Linked DNA regions of Homo sapiens: all the other regions are linked to region 2. The links are contacts of gene promoters, found by promoter capture Hi-C in blood cells and fetal thymus (Javierre and others, 2016). All regions are on one chromosome and are shown on one strand. Each heading gives the region's core, a stretch centred on a gene start or on the middle of the fragment in contact. The rest is flanking DNA. Distances are from core to core; before and after follow the strand shown.

Evidence for each region. The method cuts DNA at HindIII sites, captures the fragments that hold promoters and counts their contacts. A CHiCAGO score of 5 or more calls a contact.
Region 1: a contact is called between the fragment with the promoter of GIPC1 here and the fragment with the promoter of PRKACA in region 2, in 7 of 17 cell types (fetal thymus, activated CD4 T cells, non-activated CD4 T cells and 4 more). The highest score is 9.8, in fetal thymus.
Region 3: a fragment that was not itself captured here is called in contact with the fragment with the promoter of PRKACA in region 2 in 3 of 17 cell types (naive CD8 T cells, non-activated CD4 T cells and naive CD4 T cells); the score reaches 5.9 in naive CD8 T cells.
Region 4: a fragment that was not itself captured here is called in contact with the fragment with the promoter of PRKACA in region 2 in 10 of 17 cell types (naive CD4 T cells, activated CD4 T cells, fetal thymus and 7 more); the score reaches 11.2 in naive CD4 T cells.
Region 5: a fragment that was not itself captured here is called in contact with the fragment with the promoter of PRKACA in region 2 in 3 of 17 cell types (non-activated CD4 T cells, total CD8 T cells and monocytes); the score reaches 5.7 in non-activated CD4 T cells.

What each region holds. Positions count from the first base shown.
Region 1 is chr19:14,494,839-14,497,538 of GRCh38, forward strand. It overlaps GIPC1 (GIPC PDZ domain containing family member 1), which reads right to left and starts at 1,289. Exons shown (of 9, transcript NM_005716.4): 1 at 1,199-1,289. RefSeq lists an enhancer at 604-1,530 and silencers at 1,193-1,422, 1,563-1,622. The HindIII fragment of the contact is 11,428 bases long and covers 1-2,700 here.
Region 2 is chr19:14,116,326-14,119,025 of GRCh38, forward strand. It overlaps PRKACA (protein kinase cAMP-activated catalytic subunit alpha), which reads right to left and starts at 1,437. Exons shown (of 10, transcript NM_002730.4): 1 at 1,177-1,437. The coding sequence starts at 1,222. It overlaps LOC124904642 (a long non-coding RNA gene), which reads left to right and starts at 1,889. Exons shown (of 2, transcript XR_007067144.1): 1 at 1,889-2,700. RefSeq lists silencers at 1,018-1,087, 1,498-2,057. The HindIII fragment of the contact is 7,542 bases long and covers 1-2,700 here.
Region 3 is chr19:14,533,965-14,536,809 of GRCh38, forward strand. All of the region lies in intron 1 of TECR (trans-2,3-enoyl-CoA reductase), which reads left to right. It also overlaps a transcript of DNAJB1 not described here. Among named protein-coding and RNA genes, the nearest start is that of TECR, 5.8 kb to the left of the region's middle. The HindIII fragment of the contact is 5,775 bases long and covers 1-2,845 here.
Region 4 is chr19:14,423,304-14,426,360 of GRCh38, forward strand. No RefSeq gene overlaps it. Among named protein-coding and RNA genes, the nearest start is that of DDX39A, 5.5 kb to the left of the region's middle. The HindIII fragment of the contact is 8,906 bases long and covers 1-3,057 here.
Region 5 is chr19:13,760,597-13,763,641 of GRCh38, forward strand. YJU2B (YJU2 splicing factor homolog B) reads left to right here. Exons shown (of 10, transcript NM_030818.4): 9 at 1,703-1,841; 10 at 1,994-2,693. The coding sequence ends at 2,472. Among named protein-coding and RNA genes, the nearest start is that of MRI1, 2.4 kb to the right of the region's middle. RefSeq lists an enhancer at 2,137-2,653. The HindIII fragment of the contact is 2,861 bases long and covers 1-2,755 here.

The sequences.
Region 1 (2,700 bases), core at 39-2,538, 380 kb after region 2:
TGTTTGGGCTGGAATTTCAGCATCCTCACCCCCTCATCCTGGGAAGGGCCTGAAACTTAGCAACCCCACGGCCACACAGAAGCAGTGTGGCCAGCAGGAGGAGGGGAAGGGGGTTCCTGGGAGCACACAGAAGCTAGGGGAAGGGGGAAACCACGCCCAGGCTCCCCGTTCCAGCACAGTGTTGCTTTGGAGAGAAGGAGGGAAAGAGGCCTCTGATTCACTCTTGAAAAACCGGCTCCTGGGTGTTTCCGGGGAGAACGCCTACTTCCCAGCCTCGGCCCAGGTTGCCAGGGGGGAACCCAGTGGGCCCAGACCCCAGCATCCTGGCCCCCTGCAGACGCCACTCTCTTCTCTGGACCCAGGTAGTTAGACCTGCCCTCTCCAGCTCTGGGGAGAAGGGAAAGGAGGGCAGCTTCCTGTTTGAGTGGCTGGTAAAGCAAAAGACCAGCAGGTGTGGCCCTGATGATGAGTACGGGGTAGGGGGTGGGAGGGGTAGGGGGCCGGAGCTACTCAGCAACAACTGAGCCGTGGAGTTATTGGTATCCAGTCTAGTGGGTGTGACTCCAGTTCTGGACCCTGGGGCATGAGTTCCAGTCCCAGATGTGCCAGTTACTAGCTGTGTGACCTTGGGCAAGTCACTCCACCTCTCTGGGTAGGCTGCCTCACCTTTTTTACAAGAAGGCACAGCACCTCCCATGAGGTGTTTAGAGTCAATTATCCTCATGGTAAATGCCTGACACGGAAGCTCTCCAATAAATGCTAGCTGAGGTGGAGTTTTTCATGACGATTATTATTCAGACCGTGGTCCTCACTGCGTCCCCCCCAAGGCCCTGGAGGGTTCAGACGCGGTTAGCTCAGGGGAAGTGCCCAGGAAAGGGTCAGAAACACTGACCCCGCGCCTGTCCACGCTGGGATGGGGACAGTCCAGCCGGGGGACGGGGGGAGGGGCAAGCCCAGAAACCCCAGCCCAGCGTTGGGAGGCGTTTGTCCCCTGCCCGCCAGCAGGAAGGGAGCTGCCCCCACCACCCCCCACCCCCGCTTCCCCTGGGAAGGGGCCTCCGGCATCCCCGCGCGCAGCCTAGACCTCCAGTCGCGTCCACGGCGCCGGCCCCACCCTGCAGGATCGGCCGGATCCTCGCAGGCCCGCGACCCCCGAGGCCCCCGGAGCAGACACATCCTTCTCGCAGAGGCCACTCACCTGCTCCGCCGCCGCCGCCGCCGCCGCCGCCGCCGCCGCTGCCTCCGCCTCCCCGTGCGCACCCGGCTCGGCCCTCCGCAAACTCCAGACCGGGCCTCTCCCGCAGCGGCGCCTGGGGGGCGGGGCCGACGCCCGCGGCCGGCCAATCAGCGGCTGCCTCTCGGTGCTCGCAGCCAATCCGCGTCTTCCGCTTCGGGTGGACCCGACGGAAACATTCCAGAGGGATCCCTCCGCCTCGCCCGGCTCTTCCCGACTCCTCCCCTCGCCGCGAAGCAGTGGACCGTTCCGCCCCGCCTAAGCCGCGGCTGGCTGTACCACCGGAGGGCTGAGGAGGGGGGGGAGCTGCAGCTGGGCCCCGGCCAATCGCGAGGGAGGAAGGAGACAAGCGGCCAATGGGAAGGAAGCTGGGGCCCCTGAACCACGTGCTGTCGGCTGAGTGTCAGTCTCGGGTGCCCTGGGTGGTGAGGGGCGGGGGAGTCAGGTGACCTAGGCCAGGTTTCGGGGAAAGGATTCGAACTTCCGACGTCCAGGAAAGCGGACAGTTTAGGAGACCTGGGTGGGGGTCAATGGCAGTCCCCAACCCAGTTCCCTGCCCGGCCTCCTCTGCCCCAGCCTGGCCATCCTCGGAGCGGATAAAAAGATGCATTCAATCTCTGGGGGCGGGCGGGGGATCGAGATGAATAGGGAGGGTCCCGAGTTTCCCTGCTTCCTGGGCTGTACAATGGACAAAGGCATTCATTCATTCATTCGTTCACTCACTCATCAAATATTTAATGTGCCAGACTGCTCCGTGCCAGACTCTGTCCTACCTCTGAAGACGCGTCAGTGAATAAGCTGAATGTGCTCCTGGTAGAGGTAACAGAGCGTGCAAAAGCCGGACAGAGAGATACAGCACGCTTTAGGATACTGCAATATCGTGGGAGCTAGTAAATCAGTGTGGAAAGGCAAGATGCAATGAAAGACAAGGGTGAGATAGTTTATCTGCTTGTTGGTTTGTTTATGTGCTAGGTCACAGAAGGTACCCAGCCAGCCTTTCATAGATCTGTCTCCTCCATCTGACTGTGAGGGTGGAGGCTGAGTCTCTCTTGTCAACCCCTCACTCCCACCTCAGGCTGCCACACGGCAGGTTCTCAGCAAACCTGTGTGGACAAATAGACCATGTAGTTTATAAGGAAGGGGGATTTATCAGGTGGACACAGATCCAAGAAACAAGAGTCACAAATGCACCTGGACCAGGCCAGGACGCTCAGTTCCCGGGACAAGTGAGATTTCCTTGTTCTAGTTCAAACCCAGCCACTTGGACAGCAACTGGGGCTGAATGCTGTGTGTTCTGGGAACTGTAGTTCCTGGAAGCCTCTAAGTGCTGAGACCCTGCTCAAGCTCCATAGAAAGACTGGTTCTTTGCAGTTCCCAGGGTGAGATGTTGTGCATATCAGTCCCACCAGGACCTGCAGAGGGGCAAACTAAAATGGGAGATGGAACCTTGAGCTTTGCTGCTGAGG
Region 2 (2,700 bases), core at 187-2,686:
CCAACCTAATGTGTGGGCAAGTGGGTGAAACAGGTCTCTCTCTGGCTGAGCCCTGGGAATGATCAGAATCACTAGACGTCAAAGCAAATCACTAGACGTCACCCATTACTCTCTTTGACTGCCTCCTCCTCCCCAGTGCTCTTTCTGACCATCTCAGTTAGAACCGAATGAACCTCGCTAAACCCAGACACTTTTCATCCCAAGCCAGGAGTGGTGGAAGAAGCCCCAGGGACTGGGTGAATGACGGAGCCTCAGTTGTGAAACGACCATTTATTGAGGGGCCCTCCATGGAGCCTAGAGCTCACTGCAAGACAGGAAATGAGAGGGGGCTCTGCCACCACCCCCTTACCCCAACGCAGGAAAGAGGATGCAATGAATCCCAACAAGACCAGCTCAAACTTGGCTTTGGAAGCACTGAAGCAATTCTCTACGTTCATAAACAGTCTGCTACCCCAGCCAGGGACAGACGCTTGCTTGGAGGACGGAGCACAAGCAGAGCAGCAGAATGACAGAGTGACAGGATGAGAGAGGCAGAGGGACCCAGAAAGATCCTGTCCCCCATGCCAAGTGACACAGAAGAAAAAAATAATGCTGGAGGTGGCTCTGGGAAATGTTCAGGGGGCAGGATGGGTTTGGAAGGGGGGGCTGTGCTAAGGTGAAGAGGGAAAGGGCAGGAGAAAGATGGCGGGGGCTGGAGGGGGGAGGGGTGTGGTCAGCAAGTGGCCAAGGTCCCTGCGCGGTGGAGGCAGACAGACCTCATCGCATTCCCAAACTGGTAGAAACCTGGGTCGGGGTCAGGCAGAGGATCCCATAGGTGAGAGAGGTGAGTGAGGAAGTGGGGGGATTAGAATCTGGGAAGAGGGGCCAGGAAAGGAGGGGGTAGGCTGGTGACAGGGGCCCATGTGGGGCCCCAGCGGTCATACGTGCCATGGTTGGCAGTGACAGCTGGGGGGGAGCACGGTCTTTGCAGCATGGGGCGGCCCTAGGGGAAGGGGACCCCTACAGGGGGTACTCTGCGGGCCCGCGGGCCCCAGCCTTGGACAGGCCGGGGCAAGGGGCGCTGGGGGGTAGGCAGAGAGGATGAGGGGCCCCGTAGGGGGAGGGGCCAGGCGATGATGGACAAGGCCAGGGCTGGCAGCGCAGGGCCAAGATCGGGGTCACAGCCCGGGCACTCACCGCTCTCCTGCTCGCTGCCCTTCTTGGCGGCGGCGGCGTTGCCCATCGCGGCGGCGGCGGCCGGGGCCGGTCCCGGAGCTGCGGCGCGGCGGGTGCTGGCTGCGGCCGGCGGCCCCGGAGCGCGCTGGGCGGCGGCGGCGGCGGCCCTCGGGCTGGCTGCGCTAGCTGCGGCGCCGCGACCCCCGCCCAGCCCCTGCTTCCCGCGTCTCTCCGCGCCCGCCCGCCCGGGAACCTCAGCCCAAGATCTCTGCCGCTGTCTGTGACGCCCCCGCAGCCCGCCGCTCATTGGCCTAGGCCGCCCTGACTGACGGCTCAGCGCCGCCTCCCATTGGCCCTCCCGCGACCTTCCCGCGCCACTATAGGCTCTCAGCCTCGGGACACGCACCGCGGACTCTCGGCCATTCACTCGCTCGCGAGGCCGCAGCTGGGCGGGCAGACGCGTCCGATTGGCCGAGACGCTGGACTGGGCCCGGGGTCCGCCCTGCGAGGCCGCCGATTGGCGGAGGTGCCGGGTCCGCCAAGCCCCCCAGCAGAACGCTCAGTGTCAATCCGGGGGTGAGAGGGCGGGGCGGAGACGCAGTCTGCGGGCCCGGGCCGGCGGGGCGGGGCGGCGGAGGCTGGCTGGCGGCCGCGCAGCGCTCCGAGGCTCAGGAGGCGGCCCCGGCGGGCGCCCGGCCGGCCCCGCGCGCGCCGCAGTCCCCCGCCCCCGCTCAGTGCGGCAGCGGCTGTCGGCCAGCCGGAGTTGGCGCCGCGGCCTGCCCGGCGCAGCCGCTGTCCACCTGCCAGCGGGGGAGGGGCGCGGCCGGCGCGCGGGTCAGAGGTCGCCCGGCCGCCGCCGGCGTCATTCATAAGGCCTGGCGCTGGGCGGCCGAGGCCAGGCCTGCTTGGGGGCCAGGCCGCGGGGCCTCCTGGGTTTTCCCAGCCGCACTCAGGAGGATGCCGGGCCCGGCGCAAGGGGTGGCTGGGAAGGGGCGCTCAGTGTCCACCCCTTTGCTGGGCCCTAGCCCTGGGCTCCTGCCAGTAGTAAGAGCTGGCACCCACTTAACGCTCCTTCGCACCACACTCCCATCGCGTAGGTGCTACCATCATCACTCCCATTGCACAGATGAGGAATCTGGGGTACAGCCAGGCAGATTCCCTGCTCCTGTTCCCCGTCTGTATTTCCTGTCTGGGCAATGCGAAGGGAACCTGCCCCTTCCTTCAGGATCCTCTTTCAGTACACACTTAGCAGAGGACAGTCGGGGTTTCCCAACTGCGACACTACTGACGGTGAGGCTGGATCATTTTCTGCTGGGGGGTGTCTTGTGCACCACTGGGTGTTGAGCAACATCCCCCGCCTCTACCCACTGGATGCCAGTAGCCCCTCCTCTATCTTCCTGCTGGCTGTGGCAACCGCTGTCTCCTGACATTGGTGAATGTGCTCTTGCGGGGCCGAACTGCTCCTGATTGAGAAGCACTTAAGAGAGGGTCAGGGGAGGGGAGAAGCCAGGTCACCCCGACTCGGAAGGGCTAGCTGGGCTTAAC
Region 3 (2,845 bases), core at 213-2,712, 420 kb after region 2:
TGGAAAAACAGCTACTACATCTTGTAATTGAGCCTGTTAATTCCTGAGAAAATCAGTCTGTCTTCAGCCTCCAGCAGTCCAGGTCACTGCCCATTTCCCGCAGCTGAATACCCAGAAGCGAGCCTCTTGGGGTCCCCCATAACCCACATTTAGGGTGTTTTCTTTCTTTTTTTTTTTTTACACAGAGTCTCGCACTCTCGCCCAGGCTGGAGTGCAGTGGCTCCATCTTGGCTCACTGTAAGCTCCGCCTCCCGGGTTCACGCCATTCTCCTGCCTCAGCCTCCCGAGTAGCTGGAACTACAGGTGCCTGCCACCATGCCTGGCTAATTTTTTGTATTTTTAGTAGAGATGAGGTTTCACCGTGTTAGCCAGGATGGTCTCGATCTCCTGACCTTATGATCCGCCCGCCTCGGCCTCCCAGGGTGCTGGGATTACAGGAGTGAGCCACCATGCCTGGCCTTTTTTTTTTTTTTTTTTTTTTTTTTTTTTGTGACAGAGTCTCGCTCTGTCACCCAGGCTGGAGTGCAGTGATGTGATCTCACCTCACTGCAACCTCCACCTCCCCGGTTCAAGCGATTTTCCTGCCTCAGCCTCCCAAGTAGCTGTTATTACAGGTGGGTGCCACCATGCCCGGCTAATTTCTGTAGTTTTAGTAGAGATGGGGTTTCACCATGTTAGTCCAGGCTGGTCTCGAACTCCTGGGCTCAAGCGATCCTCCTGCCTTGGCATCCCAAAGTGCTGGGATTATAGGTGTGAGCCACCGCACCTTGCCCAGGGGTGAGTCTTATTAGCACCTGATCAGATGGGAACTACTGTTCTACTTTACAGATAATGCAACTGAAGCTCAGAGAGGTAAACTAAGCTGGTCAAGGTCACAGAGCCTGGAAGCCAGGGAGCTGAACCTGGGTTTGTCAGACTCCAGTTTTGTCCACACTGATGGCTTCTCTGCTGATGCTGCCCTAGGACAGCTGGTGGCTCTCCTGCTGTGTTCTGAGGACAGAGCATCCCTGAAGGGAGGGCGAGGTGCTGCGGGTCAGTGTGGACTGCTGGGAGAGGGTCTTTCTCTGCCCTAAAATCGGATGGGCTGCCCCTTGCAGTAAGGGCAGGATTGAGAGTGATGAGCCTTGCCTGGGTGCAGTGGTTCATGCCTGTAATCCCAGCACGTTGGGAGGCTGAGGCAGGAGGATCACCTGAGGTCAGGAGTTCAAGACTAGCCTGGCCAACATGGCGAAACCCCCTCTCCACTAAAAATATAAAAATTGGCCGGGTGCAGTGGCTCATGCCTGTAATCCCAGCACTTTGGGAGGCCGAGGTGGGTGAATCACGAGGCCAGGAGATCGAGACCATCCTGGCTAACACAGTGAAACCCCGTCTCTACTAAAAAATAGAAAAAGTTAGCTGAGTGTGGTGGTGGGTACCTGTAGTCCCAGCTACTTGGGAGGCTGAGGCAGGAGAATGGCTTGACCCGGGAGGCGGAGCTTGCAGTGAGCCGAGATCGCGCCACTGCACTCCAGCCTGGGCGACAGAGCGAGACTCCGTCTCAAAAAAAAAAAAAAAAAAAAAAAAAAAAAAAAAAAAAATATATATATATATATATATATATATATATATATATATATATATATGTATGTATATATAAATTAGCCAGGCATCATGGTGCACTCCTGTAATCCCAGGTACTCGAGAGACTGAGGCAGGAGAATTCGTTTGAACCTGGGAGGTGGAGGTCGCGGACGAGCTGAGATCGCACCACTGCATTCCGGTCCTGGGCAACAGAGTGAGACTCTGTCTCAAAAAAAAAAAAAAAAAAAAAGGGAAAGTGGTGAGCCTTGAGCTGTGGTGAGCTATAAAGACCTTTCCTATGTTAGCCTGACTCAGGCCAAGATCCTGAGGGGGTTGGAGGGGATCTTAGGCTTTTCAGATTTTCCTGCAGGCTTCTTGCTTTGAGCAGATGGTGACTCACTGGGCAGATTCTCCTGGTGGAGTCCCTTCTGTCCTGGCTGTAGCTTTGTACTTAGGCCATTTCTTTGCTGTAGGCACTCAGAATCTCAGAGCCCCAGGCTTGAGATAATTTTTCTGGTTTAACTTCTGTAAAGTTACAGATGAGGGACCTGAGACCCAGAGAACAAGGCCTTTTCCAGGGCTGCAGGCCAGTTCCCCTTTGGGTTGGGCAGTATTGATTGATACTCTTCCTGGGAAGGTGGCAATGCTTACGGGCTTTGGATCAGTGCTAGGCTCATATGCTTAACTGCCACTGACAAGGTTTGGAGCCCACGGGCAAGGTCTTTAGTTTCTCGAGCTAGTTTTTTTTTTTTTTTTTCGTGAGACAGAGTCCCCCTCTGTTGCCCAGGCTGGAGTGCAGTGGTGCCATCTAGGCTCACTGCAACCTCTGCCTCCTGGGTTCAAGCGATTCTCCTGCCTCAGCCTCCTGAGTAGCTGGGATTACAGGCGCCCACCACCACGCCCGGCTAATTTTTGTATTTTTAGTAGAGATGGGGTTTCACCATATTGGCCAGGCTGGTCTTGAACTCCTGACCTTAAGTGATTCTCCCACCTTGGCCTCCCAGAGTGTTGGGATTACAGGCGTGAGCCACAGCGGCTGGCCTTGAACTAGCTTTTTAATCCATAAAATGACACCTGGGTGTGCGAGACCCGGCTGACATTGGCTGATGGTGTGCATCTTCCCAACTCTGTGTTCAGGGATATCAGGCTGACATCTCTAAGTCACAGGTAGGGTATTTACATCACGGAAAGTGGCAAATGCTACAGCTGAGGCCCCTTCCTCTCTCCTGCCCAATGTTCATATTGACTGGGATAATTGTCCCTGCCTCCCAGGGTTATCGTT
Region 4 (3,057 bases), core at 356-2,855, 310 kb after region 2:
ATTTTTCCATGGACGTAAGGAGGGTGGATGGTTCTGGGATGAAATTGTTCCACCTCAGATCATCAGGCATTAGTTAGATTCTCATAAGGAATGGGCAACCTCGATCCCTCACATGCACAGTTCACAATAGGGTTGAGCTGCTATGAGAATCTAATGCTGTTGCTGATCTGAGAGGAGGCAGAGCTCAGGCTGTAGGTAATGCTCACCCATCACTCACCTCCTGCTGTGTGGCCTGGTCCCTGACAGGCCACAAGGCCAGGGAGGGGTGGGGGTGGGGACCCCTGCTATATAAAGCCTACTGCTCCTAGGCTACCAACCCGGACAGTGTGTAACTGTCTGAATACTGTAGGCAATTGCAACACAATGCTAAGTATTTGTTTTGTTGTTTTTACCTTCATCTTCTTTGTGATGTTACAATGGTAGGTATTTGGATATCTATACATATCAAAACATAGAAAAGGTACTGGGTGTAGTGGCTCACACATGTAATCCCAGAACTTTGGAAGGCTGAGGCAGGAAGTTCAAGACTAGCTTGGGCAATGTGGTGAGACCTCTTCTCTACCAAAGGAAAAAAAAAAAGCTAAAAAGCTACTTCATATAAATTTCCTTTCATTTCCCTTTTTATTTTTCCCATTTACTTTTTTTTTTTTTTTTTTTTTTTTTGAGACGGAGTTTCACTCTTGTTCCCCAGGCTGGAGTGCAGTGGCACGATCTCGGCTAACTGCAACCACCACCTCTCGGGTTTAAGCGATTCTTCTGCCTCAGCCTTCCGAGTAGCTGGGATTACAGGCACCTGCCACCATGCCCGACTAATTTTTATTTTTTTTCAAACAGGGTCTGGGCCAGGCACAGTGGCTCACGCCTGTAATCCCAGCACTTTGGGAACCGAGGCGGGTGAATCACCTGAGGTCAAGAGTTCAAGACCAGCCTGGCTAAAATGGAGAAAACTCGTCTCTACTAAAACTACAAAAATTATCTGGGCATGGTGGCAGGCACCTGTAATCCCAGCTACTCAGTTGTCTGAGGCAGAATAATCTTGTGAACCTGGGAGGTGGAGGCTGCAGTGAGCTGAGATCACACCACTGCACTCCAGCCTGGGCGACAGAGCGAGACTCCGTTTCAAAAAATAAAATTACATGATATAAATAAAAAGAAAAAAATAAACAGTCTGGCTTTCACTCGGGCCATAGTGCCAGGTGAGATCTCAGCTCACTGTAACCTCCACCTCCTTGGCCCACTAATTTTTGTATTTCTTAGAAGAAATGAGGTTTTGCCATGTTGTCCAGGCTGCTCTGGAACTCCTGAGCTCAAGCAATCTTCCCGCCTCTGCCTCCCCAAAGTGCTAGGATTATAGGCATGAGCCACCCCGCCCAGCCTCCTTTACTTTATACATTTTTTCACTTTATATATATATGTGTGTGTGTGTGTGTGTGTGTGTTTGATACAAATGGTATCAGACTGCATCATTTTGTTCCTTTCTTTCTCTTTAGTATCATTAAAAAATAACTAGAAGCTGGGCCCAGTGGCTCCTGCCTGTAATCCCAGCACTTTGGGAAGCTGAGGTGGGTGGATCACTTGAGGTCAGGAGCTCAAGACCAGCCTGGCCAACATGGTGAAACCCCATCTCTACTAAAAACACAAAAAATTAGCCAGGCGCGGTGGCACACGCCTGTAATCCCAGCTACTCAGGAGGCTGAGACAGGAGAATTGCTTAAACCTGGGAGGCAGAGGTTGCAGTGAGCCGAGATCGTGCCATTACACTTCAAACTGGGTGACAGAGCAAGATTTTGTCTCAATAATAATAATAATAATAACTAAAGATGATGCTCTCCCTATGCTGCCCAGGCTGGTCTAGAACTCCTGTCCTCTGCAATCCTCCCACCTCTGCCTCCCAAAGTACTGGGACTACAGGCCTGAGGCACTACGCTTAGTCCTTTTTTTTTTTTTTTTGAGAGAGTCTTGCTCTGTCGCCCAGACTGGAGTGCAGTGGCATGATTTCGGCTCACTGCAACCTCTGCCTCCCAGGTTCAAGCGATTCTCCTGCCTCAGCCTCCCGAGTAGCTGGGACTACAGGCGCCCACCACCACGCCTGACTAATTTTTATATTTTTGGTAGAGACAGGGTTTCACCATATTGGCCAGGCTGCTCTCCAACTCCTGACATTGTGATCCTCCCGTCTCGGCCTTCCAAAGTGCTTGGATTACAGGCATAAGCCACCGCGCCTGGCCTTTTTTTGTATTTTTAGTAGAGACGGGGTTTCACTGTGTTAGCCAGGACGGTCTCAATCTCCTGGCCTCGTGATCCACCCACCTCGGCCTTCCAAAGTGCTGGGATTACAGGCGTGAGCCACCGTGCCCAGCCTACCTTGCAGTTTTCTAGCTTGTCTTTCCCAAGTTTACTCCAGTACCTGCCCTTCAGGGAAGCCTACACTGACTGCTTCCTCTGAAGTGCGACAGCTACCCCCTCCAGCCTTTGCAGTCTGGGATACCTTTCGCCTGATACCTCATACTGTGCCCACTCATTCCTTTCACAAAGACGGACGTAGCACAGGCTCTGTGCAATTTCAGGGAGGAGTAACATGCAAAATAATCAAACAGGGCCAAGGGCCAGAAATGACGTCGGTGTGGTCTAGGAAGATTGCTCAGAAGATGTTACATTTAAACAGATAACTAAATGAGCAAAAGGGGCCAGCCCTGGAAAGATGTGATAGAAAAGCATTCCAGAACAGATAACAGCCAGTGCAAGGGCCATGTGGTTGGAAGTAAGGTGAGACTATTTGTTTTTGTTTGTTTTTTTTTTGACGGTGGGAGGTGGTTTGTTTTTTTGTTTCTTTGGTCTCACTCTGTTGCCCAGGCTGGAATGCAGTAGCATGATTTTTGTTTTTTATTTGAAACGGAGTCTTGCTCTATCACCCAGGCCAGAGTGCATGGCACTGTCTCGGCTCACTGCAACCTCTGCCTCCTGGGTTCAAACAGTTCTCTGCCTCAGCCACCCAAGTAGCTGGGATTACAGGTGCCCACCACAACACCCAGATAATTTTTGTATTTTTAGTAGAGA
Region 5 (3,045 bases), core at 75-2,574, 360 kb before region 2:
ATTTTTTTTCTTTTTGTGACTGGGTCTCACTCTGTTGCCCAGGCTGGAGTACAGCGGCAAATCATGTCTCACTGCAGCCTCGATGTCCCAGGTTCAAGCAATCCTCCCCACTAAGCCTCCCAAGTAGCTGGGACCCACAGGCATGAGCCATCACACCTGGCTAATGTTGGGTTTTTTGTGTTTTGTTTTTGCTTAGACTGAGTCTCGCTCGTCGCCCATGCTGCAGTGCAGTGGCATGATCCCGGCTCACTGAAGCCTCCACCCCAGGTTCAAGCAATTCTCCTGCCTCAGCCTCCCAAGTAGCTGGGATTCCAGGTTCCCACCACTGTGCATGGCTAATTTTTGTATTTTTAGTAGAGACTGGGTATCACCATGTTGGCCAGGCTGGTCTCGAAATCCTGGCCTCATGTGATCCACCCACCTCAACCTCCCAAAGTGCTAGGATTACAGGCGTGAGCCACTGCATCTGACCTGGCCACCACATTTTAAATGGAACCTCTTGGCTGGGCGCGGTGGCTCACATCTGTAATCCCAGCACTTTGGGAGGCTGAGGCAGGCGGATCACGAGGTCAGGAGATCGAGACCATCCTGGCTAACATGGTGAAACCCCGTCTCTACTAAAAATGCAAAAAAAAATTAGCCAGGTGTGGTGGCGGGTGCCTGTAGTCCCAGCTACTTGGGAGGCTGAGGCAAGAGAATGGCGTGAACCTGGGAGGTGGAGTTTGCAGTGAGCTGAGATCGTGCCACTGCACTCCAGCCTGGCCGACAGAGCAAGACTCTTGTCTCAAAAAAATATAGAATTAAACTAAATTAAAAAATAAATGGAACCGCCCAGCCCATCCCCTACCCACCTGTCCTGCATTTTTTTTCTCCTTATCACTGTCTCACCACTAGAGGCCAGCTCCACCAGGGCAAGGGTTTTTCCCTGCCTGCCACTGTATGCCGAGTGTCCAGAACAAAGCCTAGCACAAGGTGGGTATCCCAGAAATATTTGTGGGATGAGGCCGTGCGTGGTGGCTCACACCTGTAATCCCAGTGCTTTGGGAGGCTCAGGTGGGAGGATTGTTTGAGGCCATGAGTTGGAGACCAGCCTGGGCAACATAGTGAGACCCCATCTCTACAAAAAAAAATTTTTTTTTTTTTTTGAAACAGTCTCCCCCCTTTCGCCCTGGCTGGAGTGCAGTGACAACGATCTCAGCCCACCGCAACCTCCACCTCCCCGGTTGAAGTGATTTTCATGCCTCAGCCTCCCAAGTAGCTAGGACCATAGGCGCATGCCACCATGCCTGGCTAATTTTTATATTTTTAATAGAGACAGGATTTTGCCTTGATGGCCAAGCTGGTCTCAAACTACTGGCCTCAAGGGATCCACCCGCCTCAGCCTCCCAAAGTGCTGGGATTACAGACATGAACTACCAGGCCCAGTCTCTACAAAAATAAATGTTTTAATTAGCTGGGCGTGGTGGTGCACATCTGTAGTACTGGATACTTGGGAGGCTGACATGAGAGAATCGCTTGAGCCCAGGAGTTCGAGGCTGCAGTGAGCTATGATTGTGCCACTGCACTCCAGTCTGGGCGACAGAATGAAACTGTCTCAAAAAGAGTAAATGAGACCCCGAGAGTTGGAGCAGTGCCCCCTAGTACACAGAAGAGACAGGGCTTTGACACCCCCTATCTCTGGTGTTCTTGGCCCTCAACACAGGAAAAGAAAAAAGCCATCCAGGAGGAGGAGGAGAGAGACCAGGCCTTGCAGGCCAAGGCGAGCCTGACCATCCCGCTGGTGCCCGAGACGGAAGATGACCGCAAGCTGGCGGCTCTGCTGAAGTTCCACACCCTGGACTGTGCGTAGGAGGCCAGGGGGAAAAGGGGACAGGGAGGCTCAGAGTTGCCTGGAGATGGGGGGTCCTCAGCCATGAGTGGACTCTGGTCTACCAGAGGGCAGTTCTGGACCCCCTCCCCTGCCGCCCCTGAAATGTCCTCTCCTCTCCTCTAGCCTACGAGGACAAGCAGAAACTCAAGCGGACCGAGATCATCAGCCGCTCCTGGTTCCCCTCTGCCCCCGGATCCGCCTCCAGCAGCAAGGTCAGCGGCGTCCTGAAGAAGCTGGCACAGAGCCGCAGAACCGCGCTTGCCACCTCCCCCATCACCGTCGGGGACCTGGGCATCGTGCGGCGGAGGTCTCGGGACGTCCCGGAGAGCCCCCAGCATGCGGCCGACACCCCCAAGTCTGGGGAACCGCGGGTACCAGAGGAGGCTGCCCAGGACCGGCCCATGTCCCCCGGAGACTGTCCTCCGGAAACAACTGAGACCCCCAAGTGCAGCAGCCCGAGGGGGCAGGAAGGGAGCCGTCAGGACAAGCCCCTGTCGCCAGCAGGCTCCTCCCAGGAGGCAGCTGACACCCCCGACACGCGGCACCCCTGCAGTCTCGGCTCCTCCCTCGTGGCGGACTACTCCGACTCGGAGAGTGAGTGAGCGATCCCCATCCTGGAGACTGGACCCGCTCTAGAGGCCCGGACACACCCAGGAGGCCCCTCACAGACTGCAGACCCCCGGCTCGCCCACCAGCCCTGGGAGAGCTCAGATGCCGCATCCTCCCCAGACCGCGCCTTCCTGCAACCGTGGAGTTATTTATTTGGTCCTGGTGAGGGTGTTTGTGCCTTGTGAGACTCCGTACATTAAAGACCTGTCTCTTCTTCCCTGTCTTGGGTTGTTAGATGGACCCTGGGGCTGCCCCCCCACCCCCCCACCTTGACCAAGCTTGGTAGGCCTCTCATCAGCAAATGCTGGTATAGGGTCATAGCTGTGACCACAGACATGGTCCCCTTCCAGAGTAACAAGAGTCTCAAGGTGGTGGTCCCGGTTGGCCAGGAATCAGGACAGACTTCCTGGAGGAGGAGGCATGGGCCAAGTGTGAAGGGTGAAAAGGGGGCCAGGAACCACACACACAAGGCCAGGGACAAGGCACACGGGGTACCCAGGATGTGTGCCAGATGCAGCAGGGGCTGGAGCACACAGGTGTGAGCTTTTTATTATACCCAGCCCAGG